7 separate regions of the Homo sapiens genome follow, and all the other regions are linked to region 2. Evidence: promoter capture Hi-C in 16 types of primary human blood cells and fetal thymus (Javierre and others, 2016). All regions are on one chromosome and are shown on one strand. The core of a region is centred on a gene start or on the middle of the fragment in contact, and the rest is flanking DNA. Distances in the headings are between cores, read along the strand shown. Region 1 holds the start of CATSPER3 (cation channel sperm associated 3). Region 2 holds the start of HNRNPA0 (heterogeneous nuclear ribonucleoprotein A0). Region 3 holds the start of PFDN1 (prefoldin subunit 1). Region 4 holds the start of APBB3 (amyloid beta precursor protein binding family B member 3). Region 5 holds the start of CYSTM1 (cysteine rich transmembrane module containing 1). Region 6 holds the start of IGIP (IgA inducing protein). Region 7 holds the start of MALINC1 (mitosis associated long intergenic non-coding RNA 1).

Region 1 (3,621 bases), core at 33-2,532, 2.8 Mb before region 2:
TAGGTGGTTTATATGTGCACATCCCATCCTATGCCTGCAGTTAGCCAACTCAGGGTTTATATTGCCTCCTTTCTTTTTTTCTTTTTTTTTTTTTTTTTAAGAGATGGGGTCTCATTCTATCATGCAGACTGGAGTGCAGTGGTGTGATCACAGCTCATTGTAACCTCCAACGCCTGGACTAAAGTGATCCTCCTACCTTGGCCTCTCTGGTAGCTGGGACTACAGGTGCATGCCACCACACCCACCTAATTTTTTTTATTTTTATTTTTTGTAGAGACAGTCTCACTATCTTGCTCAGGCTAGTCCTGAACTCCTGGGCTCAAGTTATCTTGCTGCCTCAGCCTCCCATGGGTAATTTTTATTTCCTTTTTTTTTTTTTTTGGAGATGGAGTTTCGCTCTTGTCGCCCAGGCTGGAGTGCAATGGCACGATCTTGGCTCACTGCAGTCTCCACCTCCTGGGTTCAAGTGATTCTCCATCCTCAGCCTCCTGAGTAGCTGAGATTACAGGCAACTGCCACCATGCGCGGCTAATTTATGTATTTTTTTTTAGTAAGAGATGGGGTTTCACCATGTTGGCCAGACTAGTCTTAAACTCCTGACCTCAAGCGACCTGCCTGCCTTGGCCTCCCAAAGTGCTGGGATTACAGGCATGAGCCGCTATGCCTCGTCGCTGATTTTTATTTCTTATTTTTTTTTTAGAGATGGGGGTCTCACTATGTTGCTCAGGCTGATCTCAAACTCCTGGCCTCAAGTGATCCTCCCACCTTAGCCTCCCAAGTTGCTGGGATTATAAGTGTGAGCCACTATCCCTACCTCACTATTACCTTCTTTGCTTCTCTTGTTTTCTTTTGTTCTAAGTCAAACCCATCACAATCTTTTCTTGTCCTTCCAGGTGTTTTCCAGTGCTGTGCCCTGGATGTGCTCTCTTTCTCTTAGAGCCCAGAGAACTTGCTTTTCCCCCTTATATATGACCCTTAACTTTTTCTAACACATTATTAAGGGCCTGTGTCTATCAGCTGGGGGCACTTCTTGAAGGGAGGGCCTTTGTGTGGTCTGTTTCTAGTGACTTCCAGCTTTAACCCAGAGCCTCATGATTGCTGGGTGCCCATAGCCTTTTTGCTGAATGGAGGCACTCAGTCTCCTTGGGAAGAGAGAATCCATGATAGACCCACTTGGGAGCTCCCCACTTCAGGGGCCTACACACTGGTAATGCAACAGAATGCCCAAGAGTGACCTCATAAAGCAAGGATTCCCTTCGTGGCCCCTTCTCTGCTGCCTCTCAGAATCCAGACGCTAAGGAAAATCCCTAAGCAGAGATTTTCTGTTGGATGCTAAAAGCAAGGAATAAAAGTTGAAAATTTGGAAAATGTCTCAACACCGTCACCAGCGCCACTCGAGAGTCATTTCTAGTTCACCAGTTGACACTACATCGGTGGGATTTTGCCCAACATTCAAGAAATTTAAGTAAATATTATCTATCTCCATTGCCTGTTAAGAAATGTGCTAGTAGAAGTGTGAGGGCAGGGTGTCAGTGTTCTCTCAGCCTCTTCCCTCAGATACTCGTCTGCTTACCAAAATAAGTTGCATGTCCTTGACAATCTGGTTTCTATGATTGGTGAGGCTGGCATGCTATTACCTTTATGTGCCCTGTAGACTTGAATGACCAGTTTGACCAGTTTGACTGTTAGATAATCTGAAGGCTTTTCTCTTTTTTTATAATAGACCCCATCTCAAATCAGATAATGAAAATTACATATCTTGATATATTAGAAAAGTATATACATTCTGGCTGGGCACGGTGGCTCACACCTGTAATCCCTGCACTTTGAGAGGCTGGGGCGGATCACTTGAGGTCAGGAGTTTGAGACCAGCCTGGCCAACGTGGCGAAACCCCATCTCTACTAAAAATACACAGATTAGCCCGGAGTGATGGTGTGCACCTGTTGTCCCAGCTACTCAGGATGCTGAGGCAGGAGAATCCCTTTAACCTGGGGGGCGAAGGTTGCAGTGAGCCAAGATTGCACCACTGCACTCCAGCCTGGGTGACAGAACGAGACTCTGTCTCAGAAAAAAAAAAAAAGAAAAGGAAAAAGAAAAATATATATTCTATATTTTTTTAACTTATGAGAATGTGTTCATTTCATTTGTAACATATAATGGGAAACAGTAATACGTACTCTGAGAAAAATTGCAAAGCACAGATAAATGGAAATAAACAGGAAAAAGAATCACCTATAACCTCACCATCCATAGACAGACACTGTTAAAATTTTGGCATATTTCCTGCTGATTTTTTCTACTGCTGATTTTTGCACAGGTGAGATAATTTTGAACAGAGAATTTTGTATCTTTGGTTTTTGTGTTTTGCTGCACACAAAAACAAAAGATATAAAAATGGATCATAAACATTTTTCTAAATCCTGAAAAATGCATAGACATATTTTAGTGCCTGTATTTCACAAGATGGACATACCATAATTTACTTACACAGTCCTTTTTGTTAGATGTTTAAGTTGTTTTCAAGCTTCTCAGTGCTGGAAAAAATACTGAGATAGACATGTTTAGTTGAAGTTATTTCATTTCAGGTTATATTATCTTGGGTCAGAGAATGAATGGTTCTCAGGCTTTTCAAAAGAGCTGGTCAGTTTTTATGCCTCTGGCAGTTTTTGAGAGTGCTCAATCATACTACACTGTTGCCAGCATTAGATCTTATCACATTTAAGTCATTGCTAATTTTATAAACAAAAACAATGGTTTTACTTTGCATCTCCCTGATTGGTATTGCTGTAGAACATATTTGGAGAAGTTTGTTTGTCTTTGGTGTTTATTTCATGAATAGATTGTGTGCCCATTTTCTCTTGGGGTATTCAGTTTTTTATTACTGATGTGAGCATGTGTATGGGTGATTATTTGATGATTATCAGTTTTGCTTAGTAGACTGGCAATATTTAGTCTTGCTGTCACTGTGTTCCCAGTGCCTACTAGATTGCTTGATATGTAGTTGCCACTCAATAAAGATTTGTTGAGTCAATGAAGATGACACTTTGTTTTGCTGGAGAAGGAGTGGTGACCATTCTTTTTCAGAGGTCCAGGGAGAGGGAGCTAAGTAACTGAGTGAGGACAGAGTATCCATGATCATCATATATATGTCAGTGGTCATTTATTCAACATCTCATTGCTATTTAAAAGTATATGTAAATTTATATTCACACAAGGGAGAAAGCAGAGCCTTGTCCCTACAAAAAGGTATGCATTTTATGGGGATCTAGCTCTATTGTGCTGTAACCATACTTCACATTCAACTTTTTGACAGGAGGAACGATGATGAATGTCGGGCATTTGTGAAGAGAGTCATAATGAGCCGTTTCTTTAAGATAATTATGATTAGCACTGTCACATCGAATGCGTTTTTTATGGCCTTGTGGACCAGTTATGACATAAGGTACCGCTTGTTCAGACTTCTTGAGGTAAGCAGACAAAATGGGTCCATTTTCTTCTTTTTTTAAAACATGCTTTATTTCTGGAAACATTATAAGATTTTTTTTTTTTTCCGAGACAGAATCTCACTCTGTCAGGCTGGAGTGCAGTGGCGTGATCTCAGCTCACTGCAACCTCCATCT
Region 2 (3,784 bases), core at 521-3,020:
CCTAGAAAAAAAATGTTAGACATGTACGGTCAAACACAATGATTTATTAAAAATAAAACGTAAAAATGATTTTTGTACATATGCTTCCAAATTTCAGGCATGGGATCCAAGTAGATTTCATAGAAAACGCTGTAGCCAGGTTATCAAGTCCTTACAACAAAGTAAACTACCCCCCACCCCAACCCCCACCCAGGTTTTGCTACAGAATCAGCAAGTTCACTCCCTCCCTCCCCCCAAAAAACACAAATTAAAACAAGACATTTTGCTAGTATAAAAACGACCAAGGTCCAAGTAATAATAAAAAAATAGAGTCCATCAATGACTGTAACACAAAAATGTGTATGTGGGGCCGAGTCCATCTTCAGAGGGAGAGACAAGAGAGGTGGCAGGCAAATAGAGGAACACCCCCAAGGGTAAGCAGCCTTAGAAGTGGCTCCCCCAAGGGCAAAACAGGGAAGGCGGTGTGTGTGAGGGGGTGGGGCTTAGGAGTTGACCCCACTTGGGCTGTTGGAAAGAGCTACCCCTATAGCCACTCCCAGGCATTTTAAATTTTCTTTTAGAAGGAGCTGCCTCCATAGCCACCCCCACCGCCATAGCCGCCTCTGTAAGGTCCACTATTACTGCGACCGCCCCAGCTACTGCCTCCACCGCCGCCGCCGCCGCCGCTCTTCATGGGCCCATAGGAGGACTGATGCTGGCTGTAGCTGCCGAAGCCGCCGAAGCCGTTACCGTAGTCGCTCCCACCGTAGGACGAACCGCCGCCGCCGCCTCCGTAGGCATTGTAGCCGCCGCCTCCGCCGCCGCCGTAACCACCGTAGCTGTTGTAACCGCCGCCGCCGCCCTTGGAAAGGCCGTTCTGGTCTCGACCACCGCCGCGCCCCCGGCCGCCTCGGCCGCCCCGGGAGGATCGGGAGCCGCCTCCACCCCCACCGGAGTAGATATCCTCCTTGGGGACTGCTTTCTTCACCTCCACGCGATGGCCCTGAATCGGATGGAACTTGACCACCGCGGCCTTGTCTGCCGCGTCGTGATTCTGGAAATACACGAAGCCGAATCCACGCTTCTTGCCGGACTGCTTGTCGGCAATAATCTCGGCCTTTTCCACGGTGCCAAACTGCGAGAAGTGCTCGATCAGGTCGCCCTCAGCCACGTCTCCTTTAAGGCCTCCGACAAAGAGCTTCTTAACCTTGGCGTGGGCACCGGGCCGCGCCGAATCCTCCCGGGACACCGCCCGCTTCAGCTCCACAGTGTTGCCGTCCACGGCATGGGGCGAGGCGGCCATGGCGGCGTCCGCCTCCTCCACATTGGAGTAGGTCACGAAGCCAAAGCAACGGGAGCGCTTGGTCTGGGGATTCACCACCACCACGCAGTCCGTCAGAGTCCCAAAGGCCTCAAAGTGGCCGCGCAGGCCCGACTCACTCGTCTGCACATTGAGGCCGCCGATGAACAGCTTACACAACTGAGAATTCTCCATCTCCAAGGCCCGGGCCTTGCCCCCGCCCTGCGAGCTCCGAGGTTTCGCCGTCGCCGCCGTTATCGTTGGTTAAGGCCTCTACACAGCTTGGGCCCAGCCGTTGCTGGAGCCACCCCCGCCGCTCACCGACGGGGAAGGGAAAAAGGGAAGGGGAGGGAAGGAAGGAAGAGAGGAAGGGGGAGGGAAGGGGAGCGGTGCCGGCTAAAGGGCGAGCCGAGGAGACTGGAAGACAACCAAGGCCACCGCTACCGCCGCCGCCGCCACCTCCGCTCCCCTATCTGGGCACCACACAAAGAGGCCGCTGAACGCGCGCGCACCCTCCCCGAGGCGTGCGTCACCGCCGACGTACGGCAGCCTAGGGCTACCAGCCAATCCCCGCCTCGCTCCCCTTAATCCCGCCTACCGCGCCGCAGCGCCGCTCTAGATCACGGACTCCCCGCCCTCCGCGGTCTATTCAAGCCCGCGGCCTGTGCCGCTCCCGCTTCCGCTTCTGCCAGCCCACTTTCATTCCCGAGCGCCCCACTGTCCCTTGACATGGGTCCCTCCCTGCCCTCCGCGCACCACCGCGATTCATTTCCTCCTAGCACCGCGGCTGTTCCCAGTGTTTCTCCCCCTCCCCTTTACTCATCCCCTCGCCCAACTCCGCAGTGGCGTTCGCGCCAGCCCCTTGAGAGACATCTGAGTTCAGCCAATCACCGTGATCCCCTCGCACCCACTTCCGTTTTCGGCAGCTGTTGGACGGGCGCGCTCCCCGGTGCGCGCTTGCCCCGGCGCCCCCGGCGTGCAGAGCCGGCCTACCACCCCCGCGCCTTCTCCCGCCCAGGGCTTTGCCGGGGAGAGAGCAGGGGGCGCGCTGGGGGCCATTCCCAACGGATGCGGTCTGGGGCGCCACGCGCGGGCTTTTTGAAAACTTGACTGTTGGGGTTGGGGGCCCGGATCTACCCGCCGCCTCTCCGCTTGTCCGCTACACCTGGCGTCCCCGCCCCACCTCCCGCCCGCACAAAGATGGAGGGCAGAGGCCTGGTCCACGAAGGCGGTTATTAACCGTTTACAGTGGGCCCGACGTGCGGTTAAACTAAAACTTTGCCACGTGGCCCTGCGCAAAAGCGAGCCCGAGGCGGCGGTGTGAAAGACAACAGGGAACCAAAAGAACTTCAGACATTAGGAACCAGACGAGGCGCGACATCCCTGCCTCCCTGCCACCCTCCCGCCCTCCTTGAAGCCCTCCCACGATGCCCTCTCAGAGGAGGCCCTTTCAGGTCCCCTTGGCACACTCCAGCAGACATTTTCATTTAACCTCAGTGAATGGTTTTTTATGTGTAATTTACATCATCTATGTGTTGCTTTCTTTGAACTAGAATGTTAGCTTTTTTGTTGTTGTTGAGATGGAGTTTCACTCTTGTTGCCCAGGCTGTAGTGCACTGGCGCAATCTCGGCTCAGCAACCTCCGCCTCCTGGGTTCAAGCTGTTCTCCTGCCTCAGCCTCCTGAGTAGCTGAGATTACAGGCGCCCACCACCACACCCGGCTAATTTTTGTATTTTAGCAGAGATGGGGTTTCACCATGTTGGTCAGACTGGTCTCAAACTCCTGACCTTAGGTGATCCATCTGCCTCGGCCTCCCAAAGTGCTGGGTTACAGGCGTGAGCCACCGCGCCTGGCCTAGAATGTTAACTTTGCTTTTTTTTTTTTTTTTTTGAGACGGAGTCTTGCCTAAGCTGGAATGCAATGGCACGATCTTGGTTCACTGCAACCTCCACCTCCCGGGTTCAAGCGATTCTCCTGCCTCAGCCTCCCAAGTAGCTGGGACTACAGGCGGGCACCACCACACCTGGCTAATGTTTGTATTTTTAGTGGAGACGGGATTTCACCATGTTGGTCAGGATGGTCTCAAACTCGTGACCTAGTGATCTGCCCGCCTCGGCCTCCCAAAAGTAGAATGTTAGCTTTTTAAAGATGTTGGGTTAGACGAATGTTTTACAGAGAGAGAGATCATATACCCCTAAGTTACTGCTTTTAGTGCCCTCACTCAGATGGGAATGGAAGAAAATTACAATGGCTTCCATTTATTGAGCCTTTGTGTGCCAAGCAAGATAAATGGGGTGGGACATAGTTAATATGAGGCATTACGTGACCAAAAGCCTCCAAAACCATATGGTAAACGCTGAAGAAGTTAAGAGGAATTCCTCACTGTATCCTCAAGTATTCAGGAAAGATTTAGGAAAGAATTGGAAGTTGCACTGAACCTCAGAGCCAAAGACTAGTTAGTATCCTAAGCAAATTAAGGCTGGAACAGAAAACCAAATACCACA
Region 3 (3,368 bases), core at 396-2,895, 2.5 Mb after region 2:
AACATCTGTGACTGCAATGCACAGCAAAGGCTACTACATAATTTTTATTGTGACCTTGTTTTCACCTACTAGTAAGGTTTTGAAAGATTTACTTTGGGGAAGGGGAGGGGCCTGAAATTTCCTATTTGTCTCCACCCAAAAAAAGGACCCTGTAAAAACATTAGAAGATAAAACCTTTAAACAAGTTTTTTAATTAATTGGTTATCAAAATTATTCATTTTAAGTTTGTAATCATTTTCTTAGTTTGCATTCACCGCCCGCAAGTTTCAAATGTAGCAATAAATTCAAAAGTACCGGGAGGCAAATCCATTCACTAAACCCTGATTTAAATCGGTACTTTTAACAGAAGAAAAGGTAAATTTTTAGAATGCACAATTTTGTTTTGAAATGTAAAATTCCAGGTATCATCTGACTGCTCTATACAGCTTGCTAAGGAAGCTAGTATACCATTAAAGATGAGCTAGTATACTGTTAAAGATTAGAGACTCCACCTAAGAGCTAAATTTACAAGATTCAAGACAAGAAGAACAAAAGCAAGACACAAACACATAATATCCTCACAACACTAACAAAAGCTTCATTTGTTAGAAGCAACAGCTATTTCGGCTGTCCTATTTCTTTTACACAAGTTGACCACAGGCAGTCTTAACTAAGATGTTGCTCATCTGAAGAACTCAAAATAGTGGTCAAAAAAGTGTGAGATAAGGCAGAGAATACTGGATTCTAGTCCCAACTTCTGACAGACTTTTCTGGCACTGGTTCCTTTTCCAGAAAAGTAGATTTAAAATAGATAAATTCTAGGGTCCTTTCCAATCCACCCCACCGCACAAAGCATACTGGTTTGGGGTCATTAGTGGTGTTAGAATGCTGATCATTCTTAGATAGCAAAAATCTGAATAACAACACATTTATAAGCAACTGAGGAAAACAGGAAACCCAATTCCTTCCGATACCGGTTTTATTTGGAAAACTTTACTGGTTTTGTTTTGTTTTTGACAATTCCTTCAAAAGAAGGAGGTTTTGTTTTGTTTTGTTTGACGAGTCCTTCAAAAGAAGTGGAGGGGGGGCAAAATCCTGAAATGAACATTGCTGCTACAATGCTTGGTTTTCCGAACTGTAGATATTGCAACTTTCAAGGTACAGAACCGAATAAATGGCCTAAAAACAAAGGTTGGACTTGGAGTTTTTCAAAGCAAATGAGGCAGAATTACGGATGCCACAGCTCAGGCAAGGGGTCCGAAGGGACCCCCATTTGAAATGCTCTCTTTAGTTCTTACTATGAAAGTGAGTCCCTGAAGCCTCCAAACGCAACGAAATGTCTCTGGAGCTCAGAAAGACTGGACAAGCCCGAGACAGGCCCGCAGACTTACCCGACCCAGACCAACCGGCTCCTACCCAGCAAGAGCCGCTCGCCCCCCACCCCGTTTATGGAGACCCAGTGAGGCCTTAGGACTCTGGGAAACCATTCCCTAGTCCACTGGACCCTCCTTCCTTCTGCAAGGCTCGTGCCTCACTTGATATTCTTGTCTATAGTCCCCTCAGCCTCCAAAAAGAAGACCTCCGCCTGCCAAAGACCCTCTTTTACCTTCTTCAGCTCTAGATCCACGGGGGCGGCCATCTTGGTGCACTGTAAGCGCCTGCGCAGTGGGAGTTGGACTGAAATAGGGTGGGGAAGGGCGCGTCTTACTTTGTGCGCCGGTCTTTCTTCTGCGCCTGCGCATGAGTTGGACTAACCGGGCTTCTTATCTTTCTCTGAGAATTGACTCCTGAAATATTTGGGTTTCGGATTCCGTGTCTTCACTACCTGACCGGTCAGGTCTGGCTTGCTCCTCCGTATCTTCCAGACATAGCCCAACGCGCAGATTTCCCATGTGGCTTTAAGCAGTTTGCCAGCTAGCTTAATATGTGCTGCTAAATTGAGATGTATGTAGATGAGGTCAAACCCTCATCAGTCGATCAGTCCTTCAGCTAGTCGCTGTGCTCTCAGGAATGAGTAAGAGTAAGTCCAGAACCTCAGGCATGACAGTTTGGGAAAGACTATTGGAAAGCTTGTCTGGAGTGTTCTTTCCAAAACGAACTTATTACTTCCAAAAGCTTCCCAAAGACATTCTAGGCACAGTGGTTCTCAAGAGAGGCTGAATACGTTTGTTTAAAAACAAAAAAATGCAGGTTCTCTGGGTCTCATCTCAAACGTACTCAGAATCTTTGAGAATGGGGTCTGGAAATTTGCACTTTTGCAGACTACCCCAGTGACCTAATGGTGCAACTCCTCCGCGGATCACTTTTTTGAGAATCTCTGCCATAAAAGGACCTGGCATTTGAACCAGAATAGATAATAATTGACTTTTGGAAATGGAAAAAAAAGTTAACCTACTCTAAAAACTGTTATGCTAAGAGAAAGTGCTACATAAATAATTAGGAAATTTATTTTATTTTTTAAAAAAAGAAAGAAAGAGAGAAAGAAAACAAACTGTTAGGGAGATGAAAGGGCAGGGAATTTGGAACCAGCCTAATCTAGATTCAAGGCTTGGTCTGCCTTTAGCCTATGTCTGGTTCCATTTACTAATTGTGTGACTTTAAGCAAGTCACTTGGATATTTTGTGGGGTTTTTTTTTTTTTTTGTACGTTTGTTTGTTTCTTGAGACAGGATCTTGCTCTGTCACCCAGGCTCGAGTGCAATGGTGCAATCACGACTCACTCCAGCCTCTACCTCCCGCGCTCAAGCGATCCTCCCACCTCAGCCTCGTGAGTAGCGCTGGGACTACAGGCGCGCGCCACCCACACTCAGCTAATTTTTATATTTTTGTACAGACGGGTTTTCACCTTGTTGCCCAAGCTGGTCTCAAACTCCTGAGCTCAAACAATCCGCTCGCCTTGGTCGCCCAAAGTGCTGTAGTGCTTTGATATTAAAGGCTTGAGCCACCGCACCCGGCCACATTTTTTTTTTTTTTTTTTTTTTGAGCCAGGGTCTCGCTCTGTCACCCAGGCTGGAATGCAGTGGCACGATCTCGGCTCACTGCAACCTCTGCCTCCCAGGATCAAGTGATTCTCCTGCCTCAGCCTCCCGAGTAGCTGGGATTACAGGCGCCTGCCACCACGCCCGGCTAATTTTTGTAGTTTTGGTAGAGACGGGTTTCACCGTGTTGCCCAGGCTGGTCTCCAACTCCCAGCCTCAAGTGATCCGCCTGCCTCGGCCTCCCAAAGGGCTGGGATTACAGGCAAGCCACCACGTCCAGCATCTGCCACCTATTTTTAATGAGCTTCAGTCTTCTCATGTTTGAGAGTGACCATATTGACCTAACAGGGTTATTGTGAGAAATAAATGAGATCAGGATAAAAAGCTCCAAACATAGCTCCATGCACACAAG
Region 4 (3,537 bases), core at 668-3,167, 2.8 Mb after region 2:
GCTCTGGATGTAGGATTCCCCACCATACCAGGACAGAGAGTTACTGAAACAGAGCAGAGCTGTTAAGAGGACCACATTTCCTACAGTAGGGACACTGGTGAGGCCTAGACAACTTGATAAGCACAGGATGAGGGGCAAGACCCAGAATATAGCACCAGAAATATAAAACCAGAGCAGGGTAGAGCCCAGGACATATTAACGTAACATAAAGTGTGACTCAGAATTTGAGGGAAAATTCAGGACATAGGACCCAGACACAGGACATAGAATAAAAGTCACAAGGCTAGGTGCAGTGGTGGCTCACGCCTGTAATCCCAACACTTTGGGAGGCTGAGACGGGTGGATCATGAGGTCAGGATATCGAGACCATCCTGGCCAACATGGTGAAACCCCATATCTACTAAAAATACAAACATTAGCTGGGCATGGTGGCATGTGCCTGTAGTTTCAGCTACTCAGGAGGCTGAGGCAGGAGAATGACTTGAACCTGGGAGGCGGAGGTTGCAGTGAGCCAAGATCGTGCCACTGCACTCCAGCCTGGATGACAGAGTGAGACTCCATCTCAAAAAATAAAAAATAAAAGTCACAAAATAGAACAGGGTCCAATATGTGGACCAGAACCCCAAAGTGGGACAAGAGACCCTAGAACAGAGGACTTAATGGCCAAGGTCTAGAACATGATAGGTTAGGACCAAGAATATGAAAAACATGTAGCTACAAACAAGAGCTTAGAACAAGGGATAAAACTCAAAATACTGACAGTTAAGAACCTGGGACAGAGCCAAGAACGTAACAGAACCCAAAACATGTGACAGAATCCAGAACCTGGGCTGGAAAGCAGACCATGGGTCCAGCTGCATTTTTGAACACCATGGAACCCCAAGCCTTTCATTTTGCCTGGGCCACCCGTTACCTCCGGTCCAGTGAACTCTCCAGGCTGGAGAAGGATCTCCCTTTGGGGGGCCGCAGTCCCCAGATCCCCTCCGTTCCCTGTAGAGTGGGAGTTAGTCAGTTTAACAGCAGACCTAGGTCCACACATGGGCTCAGACCTCCTCCTCACACTCTACCTACCGTGCCTGGGTCCTCTGCATCTCCTAGTTCCCAGGTTGGGCGCTGCCACTGGGTGCTACCGCTGGGTACATGCCAGTAGTAAGTACCTGCAGCATCGTGGATCTTCCTCCAGCCAGGAGGCAGGCCAGCCTCCACCTCCAGACTGTGGTCCCCCCACAAGTCATCTACAGGAACACCGGATTAGAGAGGAGGGAGCATATGATTTGTGAGTTCAGAATAACATGCTGTCATAATCCCCTCTCCATCCCCAAAATGGGTCAGTTCTTAGGCTGAAGATCCAGGCTCCTCAATCTTGAAGACATCACATGTAAAGACCGGGTTCATTCGCCCCCTGGTCCCTACACAGAGAGGTATCCCCCACCGTCTTTGAGCCCCAGAGTAGCCTTTCGGATTCCCTCGTCCTCCCTCAGCTCCTGGTCTTCCCACCGGGCCCCTCCGTGCACACCATCGCAGTTGACCAGAATGATGGCCAGCATGTAATCCTTGCCCAGCATAACCCCGGCTGCTCCCCGCCAGCCTCTGCCGGCCCGCACTCTCAGCCCAGCGCGACCTCTGGAGCTACTGCGCCTGCAAGCCCAGCCTCTCTGCGCCGCAGGCTGCGGGGCCAGCTGGCGCCGCACAAATACGGGGCGGGACACGGGGCGGGACACGGGCCGGTCCCGGGGGAGGGCCTGAGCCGCACAGCCCGCCCAGGGGTGGTGCGTGTAAACGGGCGTCTGGATCCCCGAATGGTTGCGTGTTTCCGTGTGTGGGTCCGGGGGAGGCCCACGAACGCCAGCGAAACCGCTGACACCACCGCCCAACTATGAACTCATCAGGCGCCTGAAGACCGACACGCCGAACATGCGCCGCGCGCACTCGCGCACGAGTGAGATCATCGCGCCCCGGTCGTGAGTGCGCTCACACGCAGCCTGAGACTCGACGGGAGGGGGTCACGTGGAAGTATCTGAGAGAGGCGTACTTGGCCACTAGGAAAGCACCTCCCCCTTTCCAAAAATGCTCCGGAAGTGCCTTCGCCCTCCGTAAAGATGGCCGGGGCAGTCGGCACGAGGGAGGCGGGGATGCGCCTGCGCAACAAGTTCGGCGGGGAAGATGGCGGATGACAAGGTGAGTGGCCGTGGGGGTGATCTGCAGCCGGGCGTGGTCTTCACTCTCCTTGACCTTTTTAGTTCCGGGGAGAAGCGACTCTGGAGCGGCTCAGGAGTGAGGATGTCCCTTGTTTCTTCTGCGGCTCCTGTCAACTGCCTCAACAGTGTGGAGTGGTGTGGGGAGAGCATTCGGCGAGGCGGGAGGAGCCGTGGATCCCCCAGATGTCCCCTCCTGGGAACCATCACGAACCCGTTACTAGCACAGACTCAAAAACATTCACCCTTAAACACTCCTCACTTTACCCCATTCCCTAGCTCCCGAAATTTTCTTCCCAGTGACACGATGTTTCCAATCACACGGACACTCACACCACCCTCATTCAAACACTCCTTTGCATACATTCTGAATTTCATACTTATATGCGATCAAAATCACTCAGTCCATTTACTTACACACTTGCCGACAGTCTTTTTTGTCATTCTCAGTCACATCCAGTCACTCACATTCAGTTTGGGATGTCCTTGGGAAGAAAGAGGTAAAGCCCATCCAGGAACCAAGACAATAAAATTGTCCAGGAAACTGCCTCGGTCCATTACTCACCATTGGTCTAGAAGCTCAGCATTACCCACACATTTACTAAATGTCAGGCACTAGAACATAGTAGCCAAGACAGACTGGTCACGACTTTCAAGGAGCTCATAATGGAGTCAGTAGTGGTTTCCTGATGGACCTAATTAAAGGTCCCTAGCTGTCCCTCCTGCCTTTCCTACATACTGCTTGCTATATAAAATTCTTGTCAAGGTTGATGTAAGTTACTGGTTCAGATCCCATCTGTCAGTCCCTTCCTGGCCCTCATTTGAATTCTGTGCTTTTCAATGCTTGTCTTTCTTTGCCACTGCCATCTCAGGAAGCTTTTATAGGAAAAGGTCTTTCTGGCTCACCCCATCCCCTCCCAATTCCCAGCTTCTGATGGAATTGAGCAAGGGGTGGGGCTTAGTCAGACTGCTGGAGCCAGCCTCTCGCTTGTCCTAGGATTCTCTGCCTAAGCTTAAGGACCTGGCATTTCTCAAGAACCAGCTGGAAAGCCTGCAGCGGCGTGTAGAAGACGAAGTCAACAGTGGAGTGGGCCAGGTAAGGACTGTCCCACCCCACCCCTGCCTTAGGCTTTATTGCCCAACATGCTCTTGAGAGTGTTAAATGGATGGTAGAGATTTCTTCAGCAAGTGATTATTGAGGGCCTATTCTCAGTCACCCTAAGGACAATTTTTCTGAATGGCACATGAACTAATATCTTAAGTAGTGGTTAAGTAGGTGAAGAGGGGAGGAAAGAACATTCCAGGCAGAACAGCATATGTAAAGGCCTTGTGGTAGGAAGTA
Region 5 (3,303 bases), core at 736-3,235, 2.4 Mb after region 2:
TACCACAGGCCTGAAAAACTGTCCAGCCAAAAAGCCTGACTGCCTTGAGTACTATCAGGGTGTAGTTATGGACGTGCCTGTTTCTGCTCTTCCCTCTGCATTAGTGCTCTGCAAAGGGTGGCTCTTACCCTCAGATGGTCCAGAGGTAGTTTGGGGTGTGCATGGATCACCTTCACTCTTCAGAGGCAAACAGACAATGCTGCTCTTCTCCAACAGCCTCTGAAGGACACCACCTACTGACTGGTTCTGAGATGTTTGCTGCCCCAGAGTCTCCCACCTGCTTCTTCCTCCCCCTCAGTCCTTTTTTGTAGCCTCTCAGCCTCCCTTCTCTTAATGCTCTTAGCACCCTTTCCTGGGTCTCTATTTACCCTGCCCTCCCTTTCAGCAACTCCTTCCCAAACCACTGCATACTTCTCCTTTCTTTCCAATCCCTCCTCCCTTCCCAGCACTTTCGCCCTCCATTGAATCCCTCAAGCCTCATTCTGGCCCCACTCCTCCCCTCACCCTCTATCCCTGCCCTCCTCAGATCTGCCAAACACCTCAGGCCTGGCTGCCTCTGTCCTGTTCCTACCAACCTTCTGACCATGCCTCTGTGCTCCTTGGGACCTGGGCTCACATTTTCAATCTCTTCTCTCCTATTAGTACAGCTCTGTCTAGAGCCATGGTTCTTCTCTACCTTTCACAGCTGTCTTCTTTCCCACTTATATGAGTTTCTTTAAGTGTGAAAATTAAAAAGTGCCACTTAAATACAATGATTAAGTCATAATAAACAGTACAAGTTGTACTTATGTGAGACATACCACCCATACACGTTTGATCTTCGAGAACCACATCTCAATCTGCCCATGGCCCATTGCCTGACACTAAAAGATGCTCACAAGAAGTTGACTATAAACTAACTTCTTGGTCTAAGATCCTAAACTCTTGAGAGGGAAGGTTTCAATACATATGAAACCTTCTTGGCAGTGCAGGGATGAGGAGAGTAAAACTGAAATGAAAGTCAGCAAATAGTGAAGGTGTGAAATAGGCAGTGACTCTCACACTGAGACCTCCAGGGGATGTTAAATTTTCATTTCGAAGCTGATAGTCTTATCTGGGAAGCCTAGAGAGTAACAAAAGTTGTAGGCATATACTTATATTAGAGTGGTGCAAAAGTAATTGCTGTTTTTGCCATTTAAAAAAAAAATGCAAAAACCACAATTACTTTTGCACCAACCTAATAGCAAGCAAGGGGAGGAATATGGAGAGAAAATCAATTTCTAAAATGAAAAATAAAAAATTTTTTGCAAGTAGGACTTGCAAGCTCATTCTAGGCCTTGCTCTGGGAGCTTTTCGGTAACTTCTCTTCCTGTTGGAACAGAAGAAGGAAACCTTCAGGACAGAAGATTCTGTCCCCCTTCCCCCTCCTGATGTGAATGAAGTCTCATTACACTCTAAAGTACTGGCGGGACTACTTGTTGCAAGGTTTATGGGGAAAAGTAGCCAGAGAGCAATCCAGTTATCAGCCTCAGCCCCATTCCGCTCAGGTACAGCTCGGGAAGTAAGCCCCCAACCCTAGTTGGGTCTGGACCAACAAGACACGAGGAGGCAGCAGCCCACAGCCGACCCCTCATGCCACGCACTGAGCAGGGTTCCGCATGGACGCTGGTCTTGCCTCCCAGGCGCCTGAACTAGCGGAGTTGGGGTATCGGGTGGAGTCTCGGAGAACCAATCCAATCTGAGGGGGACGCCTGTGGGAGTCCTAAGTATCCAGCGCAGCTGGGAGGCCCACGTTGGGAAGTCGGAGACCGACCCCGCCTCCCGACTGCGCCGACTGCAAGAGAGCGCTTCCGGCGGCGCTTGGAGGCCGAGCAGTTGGGGGCGGGGCTCGTGCTGTGACGCAAGCCTCGCCTCGCCCCGCGCCGCGCGCGTTGCCAGGGTGATCAGGTGACTCCCGGTTCGCGGCGCTGGGAGCGGCCGTGACGTCAGGCGCCCGGCTGCTCCTCACTTGCTCTGAGACAGGTGCGGCAAGTCTACTGCGGGCTGGTCCGGGCTCCTCAGGTTCAGACCCGACCGTTATCCAGTCGGTTCGTGGAGAGGAGAGGTGAGGTGCAGCGGACCTGGCCCGACCCAGCTGGGACCAGGGCGGGGATCAGGCACGGACAGGGCGCGTCCCCGGGCTCCCTGGGGAGCGCCCTGAGAACTGGGGGGCACCCGGGCTGGCCTGGCTCAGGCAGGGGTTCGCGCAGCCCCTGGGGAGGGGCAGGGAGGCAGGGAAGCTGCTGCCGCCAGCTGGATCCCTCCCGGCGCCCCGCGGCTACTCTGGGGCTCCTGGTCGCCGCGCCGCGCGTCTCGGCGGTGGACTCACAGGGTCTCCGCGTCGCTGCGGTTCTCGTCTCACGAGGAGTCGGCGGGCTCGGAGCGGGGCTCGCCACACCCCGTCCCGGGGGACGTCCGCGGGAGGCTTCTGGATTTCTTCGCCTTGGGCTGCGATTTCTGAGGCGCTGCTCTGCCTATTCCGAGCTGGGCCAGCCGGGGGCAGGGGGCAGGTCGCGAGTCCCGCGGGTGGGAGCGGAGCGGAAGTAACTAGTGACTGGAAGTAACTAGGGAACGCAAAGCCGGCGCTCGGAGGCCGGGGTGTTCAGAGAAGGCGTTGCGGGGGAAAGGAATCCCGGCTGCTGTTGAGAGCCGTGGATTGGGATCTGAGCGGACCTGTTGGAGGAAGTGAAATCTGAGCGGGGTCCTGACGGGTGGGAACTAATCTCCCGGTAGCAGTGGAGGTTGCAGGGGGGAGAGAAGGAGGGGAGGACCCCTGGGGAAGGAGACCATGAGGAAAAACGATTTGGGGACTGACTGGACCGTCTGCTGGGCTGTTTTGGGGGAAAAAAAGTTTGGAGAATTAGGTTAGGGAGGATTAGGAAAGGACCCTTGAGTGCCCACCTGAGAGGCACTGTGTGCTGTGGGGAGCCATTGAAACGTTGGCTAGATTGGGGTAGGGGGAACACTGAGGAAGTTGGTGTGAGGGGAACACTGAGGAAGTTGGTGTGACATTCCGGCAAAAAGGTGACAACACTCTTCTCTGATGGGATTCCTCAAACCCTGCTTATGAAATACTTGTAACCGACAAGGGTAGGGGCTCAGGCAGCCAGGTGCCTTTTTCAGCCATTGTTGGCAAATTTTTAGAAATTAAACAAAAAATAATTGTACATATTTATAGATTTATACAATATGATACATGTAAACTTTGTGGAGTAACCATGTTAGCAGATTTTTAAAAATTCCTTTTTATGAAAGGACCCACCCAAGGGCAGCTCATTTTCGAGT
Region 6 (3,357 bases), core at 524-3,023, 2.4 Mb after region 2:
TAAAAATTGATAGTTTTATCAATGGAACAGAGAGATGTGTTTTTGGCTAAAATTATTTTTTGTAAGTTATTTGGTTATTTCATTTTATATTCCCTTTCCCATAGCTTTGTACACACCTCATACTTAAAACCAAGTGAGAGGCCTCTTTTCAGATCTGGTTTATTTTTGGAATGCCTGAGTGTGTTTCCAGATTGGGGGGGGAGAGGTGGTGTTTTACTTTTTGACATGCTCTTAGCATGTTTTGCTAGTCATTCTGGATCTTATGTTTGCAAATTCTGTTGAACATTCAGTGATGTATTTGAAATGAGAAAGTCCTTTATAACATAGTGTGAATGTTTGTGGCCAATTCAATTGTGGAATCTTATGGCTTTGTTTTTACTTTGGGTAGAAGTTTAACTTCCATTGTTCAGATTTTAGGTTTATCTAGTGAAATTGTGCCAGGTAGTTGTCTAAATATGGACCAATTTTGGGAAATGAAGATTAATAAGTGTATATTTGATTCTAGATAATCCTTTACTCAAAATCATAAGTTAAAGATTCACATCATTAAGAGTTATCTAACTTTTATGTTGTCAAATCTTTAAATGTGGATGATATTCAGCATTCTATCTATGAATTTCCTTTAGGAAAAGAGAAAAATTCAGTCTCCAAACCTTTTCTTGGAGACAAAATTTACCACATATCGAAAATGAAAAAAATTTAGAAAGCGATTTGATTATTTTTTAATGGAGTTTAACCAGCTTAATTAATGATTTTTCCAGTTTGAAGCACTTATTTTCCCAATGTGAATAAAGGGAAAAGATCAGCAATTTGTCCCTGGCCTTTTTCGAGGCCATTTTTAGTTTTCTGCCCCCATTTCCCAGTCCTGGTATAAAATGAATTACGGGTATCCCTCTAAGTCCCTATAACCCTTTTTGGGGGTCACAGATATCTTTGATAATCTGATGACAGTGTGATGGATCCTCTACCCAAGAAAAAAAAAATGCCCATCCCTGGATAATTTTGCATACAACTTCAGGGGCATCACACATCTTCTGAAACCCAAGTTAAAGATCTCTGCTCTAAGTAAATTGTAGAGAATTTTAGTGCAAATCGTTGATAAAATTAGGAACCAACTATTGGCTTAAAACCTTTCATATTGGAATTATTGTTAGATGGTGGCCCCTACTAGCAAAATGTGACATTGCAACCAGCTTCGTTAGACATTATAACAACCAGAGAGAAGGGAAAAAAGCAAAGTTCTGAAAGCTATTTATAAGGAGTCAGGGCATCTCTAGACATGGGAGCCTTCCTGGTTCAAGGCAGGGGTCAGGGTGCCTGACAATTTCTAGCAGGGTAGAGTTTGATAAACCACAATGCTCAGGATGCCAAGGGGTTAGCCATTATCTTAACCCCTTCCTCACCAAAAGATTTTAGTTTTGTCTGTTGGGAAACAAGATGTCACTAGGGAAAAAAAGATTTGCCTTACAACTTTGCTGGAACACATCAGTTTGGTGACGTTGGGACACTAGTGTTATTTTTGAGAAGGCGCATAAAACCAAAGTAAATTATTCTCTATGTAGAACATTTATTTACTAGTAACATTTGTTTGCGTGTATTCGCTTTGACAATTTTTACCAGTAAATATTGGTTTTATTTAAAACTGGGAATCCAGTTGATATATAGGATAGTTGATACATCTGTTCTTTCCCCCATGTAAAGCATAGTTAAAAGATTTATGCATACTTTTTACTTTTCTCTCTTAATGCCATGGGGTGGGGAGGGTGGGTGGGGGAAAGATTTTTGAGTCTACAACTGACAAAATGTCTTCTTCAAATTAAAAAAAATTGAGAAGCAGCACTTTAAGTCTAACTCTACACCATTTTATTGCATGTATTAGTTTTATTAATGATTTTTGGTGCATGCCTTTGGGCTTATTCAAAAGTGTACAATAGGAAAGTATATTTCCTTTCTTAGAAAGGAGATGTTTTCTACTTTGCAACATGTGATTACAAAAATCTTCCTCTGTGGGAAGATTAACCATGTATTGAACTACTGAAAAGTATATATTTTTAGATATACAGAAGGAATCTACATGGAGCAGCATTCAGACCTATATAGAAGTCATAGCATTCTGTATAGGACCAAAAAGGAAATAACATTAAACACTTAAACAGACGTTGTTGGGTAGAAATACCTTTAGATCTTGCATTTACTTCCAAAAAGAAAAAATGCCACAGAAGTTTGCTGAAAACTTTTGTCGTTTGAATTTTCTCTGTCAGTGTATTTAGCCCAAATACAACAGCTTTGGGTTAGCACACACATAAGAATCAAAAAAACAAAGCTCACTAAATAAATCAGTCTGGTTTGCCAATCCAGCTTGACTGAAATAAGTAAACCAATCACTTGCAACATGAAAAACTGTCCAACTCCTCTAAGGTTCTGACAAAATAACCTTGGCTGATGTGGGAAGACTCCCACTTTGATTACTGACCTGACAGTGAAGATTCATGCTTGACATGATTTCAGACTTGACAATGTCTGTTTAAGGAGCTATGGTACAGTTTGCTAATTCAATCCCAGATACCTGTTGATTACCTGTGAGATCTAGAGTCCAAAGTAGCCAGCAGCCATATCCCTGAGTGCTCTGTGCCCATCAGATATCTTAAAGTAAGCAGGGTTGGGACAGGTCACAGCTTGGATGATTGACCTCAGGTGCCGTAGACAGCCCCAGATTCAAGAATTGTATCTGCTTTCTTGGCAGTCGTCACTGAACTAATGTCCCATACTGTGTTACTTACTGTAGATGCTCTCTTTTAGAGGAGGCCCAGAGCACACATCCTAATCGCTAGCGGTACTCAGAGAGGGGGTGCTAACTCTGATGCCCTGGCCAAATTCCAGTTTAGGGATGTGGGTCTTCTTCTTGTCATTCTAATTGGAAATGTGCATCACTTCCCATTTTTCTTACTGATCTCAGTGCAAACTACACTAGTCTGTTTCTTTGCCCTGGTCTCAAGTCTCTAAGACGCTGGTGTGTATTATGTGGGCTAAGTTCATGTGTTATCCTAAGGCACAAGAGTTGAGGAATGGGTGAGCTTGGTGTCAGAGCACTGTGTGGTTGGAGGGTGGACTCTTGTGATGCTGTGGGGATGAAATTGGCCCTCTTTTAGCATAAGTTGGGGAGTGTGCACTGGCTGGAGGCTTCCAGAGGCTTCCAGCCATGAGGTGTGAGCTGAAACCAATTTTTCCTCTTTCCTTATAGCATGTTGAGAAAATCTGTTGGGTTTTCAGCAGTCAGGGAAGGCCGGAGTTCTGCTTTAATCTGGGTAACTGAGGCTAATATGAGCAAGACTTTGGTTAATTAACTGGGTTCTCAGA
Region 7 (3,700 bases), core at 1,186-3,685, 2.4 Mb after region 2:
ACAGAATTACCTGTAAATTGCTACCATTTTACATTTGGTTCAGCTTGTCTTCTCACTTCTGTAAGTCTGAATGACGGTAGTTTATCTTGTATGTGAACAATTTAGGAAAGCCAGGAAAGAAGCCAAGTAGAGTTCTCTTCAACAAGGGTCAACAATAAAGTCTTGGAAATCTTCATAAGCTTGATGCTGTTAATTAGGAAAAACTGCATCGGAATTTTTAAATTACAGTTGAGTACAAGCAACTATATAACTAGCAACTTCGAACCTGTAAATGCTTGATAAATATGCAGTACTGAGAAAGGATGGTTTGCTTTGGAAGGTTATCTTGTCCTATGTTTCAATAAAAGACAAGGTTTAAAGAGATGCTACTTGCTCCTCATACACCTAAAAAACTTTTTTCTTGAAACTTTCTAATGTTTTCCCTCCGTAGCTCCATGTATTTTATTAATGTGTCTGATAGCCTTTGTTTTTCCTCCTCTAGAACCTCCAAGTTTTCTAATTCTCAGCTATGATTTTAGATCATTAAATCACCAGTTTCTAATCTCCACAATACAGTTGGAAACATTTAGGACAGAATATCCTTTAGGATATTAAGATGCAGAAGACTGTACTTCGAAGGATATTTATATAGTAGTGCTGCCACCTAAAGATGAGGTGAATATAAAGAAGCAATTCAAAGGAAATGACCCATCACCCTTAAGCCAGTCTCATTTTCTCACCTCCAGCTAGGAATTAATAAGCGTGTTGCTGTTGTTGTTGTCATTAACAGGGAAGTTGAACTGTTTCGCAATCACTTATTTCTGAGCTTTAATCCTCTGTGCCAGATAATTTCAGACTCAAACCTTTTCTAGTCCTCTGCGATTCTTCTCAGCCATCAGGCACTGCCTACAATACGTAAGAGGCAGCAAAAGATACTTGGAAAAAAACAATTGAGAGATTTCTGGTTTAGTGAATAAAGCAGGCAATAATAGACCTTAGAGTTTTCCCTTTATCAGTGATAGACTCCTCACAATGCTGAACAACTGACTTACATTTTGATAACTAAATTTTCATCTGTAAAATGGGAGTAATTATACCTTAGTCCTACTTGCCTCGCAGGCTCAACTAGATATGCTTCTGGGAAAGATTCTCTAACAAGTGAGTTTAAAAGTCTACCACTGCCTAACAAAGAGGGATTTTGTGGTATATTTGCAAAGTAACTTCAAAACAAAATAGTTAAATAGGTTGAGGCAATGATTAAGTTTTCCTAAATCACAGTTTGACTTCTCGGAGGTCTATTTAAATAATGATAAAGATGATAAATGCAGTTTTTATTTTGCTGCAGTTATTAGCTGATCCACGTTCCATCTACGTATTCAGTGTTGCAGGATGGAGACGTGACAGCGTAGAAAGCGAGCAAAAGCGTTACCGTGCACCAAAAATCTTGTCAAACTTGATACGATTTCAAGAAGACTGTCTTAAAGGACATTTTATAATTTCACATTTAGCCCTTGCATAGCATTTTATGAAAATTAACTTTTACCCTTTCCCCCTCGGCCCAAGGAAGTCGCATTCCCTCAAAGGGGCCCGGCTTCAACATATTACACTGCGTGGGAGGCTGGGCAGCAACCCCACGCTTCCTGTCAAGGATTCCTGGGGCCAGAGCCTGAAAAGTGCTCTAGCCACTCTTCTCTATGCTAATTCTGTCCTTCCGACCCCTCTTGGCGGGTGTCTGAGGGCCAAGGTGAGACTTTCCCCGGAGATGAAAGGCCTATTGCCTCTTCAGAGACCCGGGCGGAGTTGGGGCGGGGGTGCCGCGTGATAGGGTGGTAGCAGAAGTCGCAACGACGCACAGGGCCCTAAGTTGGAGCTGGCGCAGGCCCTTCAGGGTTCTATCCCCGCCAGAGCCTGGCTTCGGCCTTCAGAAGCCAAACGAGTAATAGGTCCTTCTGGGGCGCTGTGGGCGGTGGGTGGAGGAAGTGTGGGCGGAGAGGCCACAGACATCCCCCTCCTCAGACGCGCCCCAAGGCCTGGCCCGCGGAATGTTGACGCGCCAGGAGCCGATAGGGCGCGCTCACGCGCGAGAAGGGGGCGGAAAGAGCGCGCTCGGCGGCCGCCGCGGCGGCAGCTAAAACGGAGGGACGCGAGAGCGAAGGGCGCGAGCCACGGAGTTGGGAGGAGGGGTGGGGAACGCGGAGCGCGCGCTGACGTCGCCTGGAGTCACGCACGGAGCGCCGGGTTACGCGCCGACGTCTGGCTGCCACGACTTGCCGTCTGCGGCGGCGGCGGCGGCGGCGAGCGGATCCCGCAGGGGAAGGAGGAGGAGGAGGGAGAGCCAAGGGGGCTGTGAGTGAGCGGGAGAAGCAGGGTGTGAGCCGGACTTGCCCATGGGAGGGAGAGCGAGCGAGAGCCGAGCCAGCCATCCGAGCCGCCTCCTCCTCCTCCCCTCGGCGTCCCGCCCCCGCCCGCCAGCCCGCCCTCCTTCCTCCTCAGCCCGCAGAGCCTAAGTGAGGCGCAGCTCGGCTAGCGCCGCTGTCCAGGACAGGTGTGCGCGCGCGCGCCCTCCTCCCCTCCCCCCTTCCTCGCGCCTGTCTCGCGCGCGCCCTCCCTCCCGCCAGCCTGCGCCCTCCCTCACCTGCGGCAGGACAGCGCCCGCCCGCCCGGGTAAGCCCCTCGCGACCTTCCCTGCTGCCACTGCCACAGCTCCAGGTGACGCTCGCCCCGTCCCCTTTACTTGCTCTCTCAGCCCAGGAATAATTATAGTACCATTGCAGACATCCCCGCACCCTCCCTCTTGGAGACCCAGGCGGTGCAGCAACGTTCTCTCCCACCCCCCGCAGCGAGAAACGAATGAACCCCCTCCTACTTTCAAAAGAGAACAAAATAACACGCCCCTTAAGAAAAGAGGCGATCCTACCTCCGCAGGCGCTGGAGACCACCAGTGATGCGTTTGCTTAGCAATCCCTGAGCCCCATTTCCCCTGGCCGCCTTCGCCCTGGGGCCTGGGACTGTGCGCTAGACGTGGCTGACACTCCCTGCACGGCAACCCTGGAAGGAGGGAGAGGAAGGAGAGTTCTATAACCCAGGCTTCACTGCCAACCCCTCCTCTGTTCGGTTCCCCCCACCCCACTACCACCAAATGCATACACCCGCCCAGGATGCGTTGTAAAAACAAAACAAAACCAGGAAAAAAAAAAAAAAAACCTTTGGTGCTGACATCGCAGATGAAGCCGGGCCCAAAGATGGGTGGCCCGAACAAGGCATTTTTACTGCCCCACAGCGCTGGGTCAGCTCCACAGCTCCTCTGCCTTTGTCCGAGGGCAAAAGGAACGGATGTGAAGCTGAGGGGTCTTCTCTGTGAGCGGCGGTGGGCCCCGGAGGCGGGCTGTGATGTTTGTAGGGGAAGGCACCCAACCAATATATCTGCCATAAACCTGAACTTGGGTTGGAGAGCCCCCAGAGACTGGCTGGGGTAACTGGTTCGTAGCTGTCTACCCCGGAATAAATGCCACCTTCTTTTCCGCGGTGTCTGCGGGACCCTCTGTTGGGGGTTCTAATTCGTTTTGGCCTGGGCTCCTTACATTTCTGTCCGGCCAGGCGCTTTTGGACAGCTTTTCGCAGCGGTGTCTAAGCTTGTGTTCGGTGTCCTTGGAAGGGAGGTCCCAGAGCTTTACAATAGGCTGGATTTGGTTTGACATCTTTTGGTGGACTGTCAAAGGGG

What was found. Contacts are between HindIII fragments. The CHiCAGO score rates a contact against its expected background, and 5 or more counts as called.
Region 1: the fragment with the promoter of CATSPER3 here is called in contact with the fragment with the promoter of HNRNPA0 in region 2 in 1 of 17 cell types (naive CD4 T cells); the score reaches 5.6 in naive CD4 T cells.
Region 3: the fragment with the promoter of PFDN1 here is called in contact with the fragment with the promoter of HNRNPA0 in region 2 in 6 of 17 cell types (fetal thymus, total B cells, naive B cells and 3 more); the score reaches 22.9 in fetal thymus.
Region 4: a contact is called between the fragment with the promoter of APBB3 here and the fragment with the promoter of HNRNPA0 in region 2, in 9 of 17 cell types (naive CD8 T cells, total CD4 T cells, fetal thymus and 6 more). The highest score is 21.9, in naive CD8 T cells.
Region 5: a contact is called between the fragment with the promoter of CYSTM1 here and the fragment with the promoter of HNRNPA0 in region 2, in 9 of 17 cell types (total CD4 T cells, naive CD8 T cells, activated CD4 T cells and 6 more). The highest score is 15.0, in total CD4 T cells.
Region 6: a contact is called between the fragment with the promoter of IGIP here and the fragment with the promoter of HNRNPA0 in region 2, in 3 of 17 cell types (naive CD8 T cells, total CD8 T cells and fetal thymus). The highest score is 9.9, in naive CD8 T cells.
Region 7: a contact is called between the fragment with the promoter of MALINC1 here and the fragment with the promoter of HNRNPA0 in region 2, in 10 of 17 cell types (total CD4 T cells, naive CD8 T cells, activated CD4 T cells and 7 more). The highest score is 20.9, in total CD4 T cells.

What each region holds. Positions count from the first base shown.
Region 1 is chr5:134,966,625-134,970,245 of GRCh38, forward strand. CATSPER3 (cation channel sperm associated 3) reads left to right here and starts at 1,283. Exons shown (of 8, transcript NM_178019.3): 1 at 1,283-1,465; 2 at 3,315-3,468. The coding sequence starts at 1,368. The HindIII fragment of the contact is 4,293 bases long and covers 1-2,523 here.
Region 2 is chr5:137,752,593-137,756,376 of GRCh38, forward strand. HNRNPA0 (heterogeneous nuclear ribonucleoprotein A0) reads right to left here and starts at 1,771. Exons shown (of 1, transcript NM_006805.4): 1 at 1-1,771. The coding sequence starts at 1,474. The coding sequence ends at 557. RefSeq lists enhancers at 430-1,121, 531-690, 1,201-1,550, 1,812-2,503 and a silencer at 2,131-2,490. The HindIII fragment of the contact is 5,253 bases long and covers 1-3,784 here.
Region 3 is chr5:140,301,456-140,304,823 of GRCh38, forward strand. It overlaps PFDN1 (prefoldin subunit 1), which reads right to left and starts at 1,646. Exons shown (of 4, transcript NM_002622.5): 1 at 1,586-1,646. The coding sequence starts at 1,618. RefSeq lists an enhancer at 1,383-1,662 and a silencer at 1,551-1,755. The HindIII fragment of the contact is 1,473 bases long and covers 574-2,046 here.
Region 4 is chr5:140,562,681-140,566,217 of GRCh38, forward strand. APBB3 (amyloid beta precursor protein binding family B member 3) reads right to left here and starts at 1,918. Exons shown (of 13, transcript NM_133173.3): 1 at 1,517-1,918; 2 at 1,072-1,235; 3 at 914-990; 4 at 1-43. The coding sequence starts at 1,565. SLC35A4 (solute carrier family 35 member A4) reads left to right here and starts at 2,148. Exons shown (of 3, transcript NM_080670.4): 1 at 2,148-2,178; 2 at 3,193-3,291. LOC131768270 (SLC35A4 upstream open reading frame protein) reads left to right here and starts at 2,148. Exons shown (of 3, transcript NM_001394034.2): 1 at 2,148-2,178; 2 at 3,193-3,291. The coding sequence starts at 2,164. It overlaps MIR6831 (microRNA 6831), which reads right to left and starts at 1,071; the gene lies at 991-1,071. RefSeq lists enhancers at 1,076-1,135, 1,744-2,350, 2,106-2,225 and a silencer at 1,606-1,785. The HindIII fragment of the contact is 4,216 bases long and covers 1-3,069 here.
Region 5 is chr5:140,173,203-140,176,505 of GRCh38, forward strand. It overlaps CYSTM1 (cysteine rich transmembrane module containing 1), which reads left to right and starts at 1,986. Exons shown (of 3, transcript NM_032412.4): 1 at 1,986-2,083. RefSeq lists an enhancer at 1,564-1,793 and a silencer at 2,084-2,373. The HindIII fragment of the contact is 7,638 bases long and covers 1-3,303 here.
Region 6 is chr5:140,124,164-140,127,520 of GRCh38, forward strand. It overlaps IGIP (IgA inducing protein), which reads left to right and starts at 1,774. Exons shown (of 1, transcript NM_001007189.2): 1 at 1,774-3,357. It overlaps PURA (purine rich element binding protein A), which reads left to right. Exons shown (of 1, transcript NM_005859.5): 1 at 1-1,456. The HindIII fragment of the contact is 9,298 bases long and covers 1-3,357 here.
Region 7 is chr5:140,105,577-140,109,276 of GRCh38, forward strand. It overlaps MALINC1 (mitosis associated long intergenic non-coding RNA 1), which reads right to left and starts at 2,436. Exons shown (of 4, transcript NR_102741.1): 1 at 1,833-2,436; 2 at 720-914; 3 at 11-186. It overlaps LOC124900193, which reads right to left and starts at 3,693. Exons shown (of 4, transcript XM_047417990.1): 1 at 2,208-3,693; 2 at 720-885; 3 at 11-203. The coding sequence starts at 3,409. The coding sequence ends at 2,483. RefSeq lists enhancers at 1,536-1,635, 2,746-3,247 and silencers at 2,166-2,235, 2,266-2,325, 2,336-2,595. The HindIII fragment of the contact is 3,432 bases long and covers 178-3,609 here.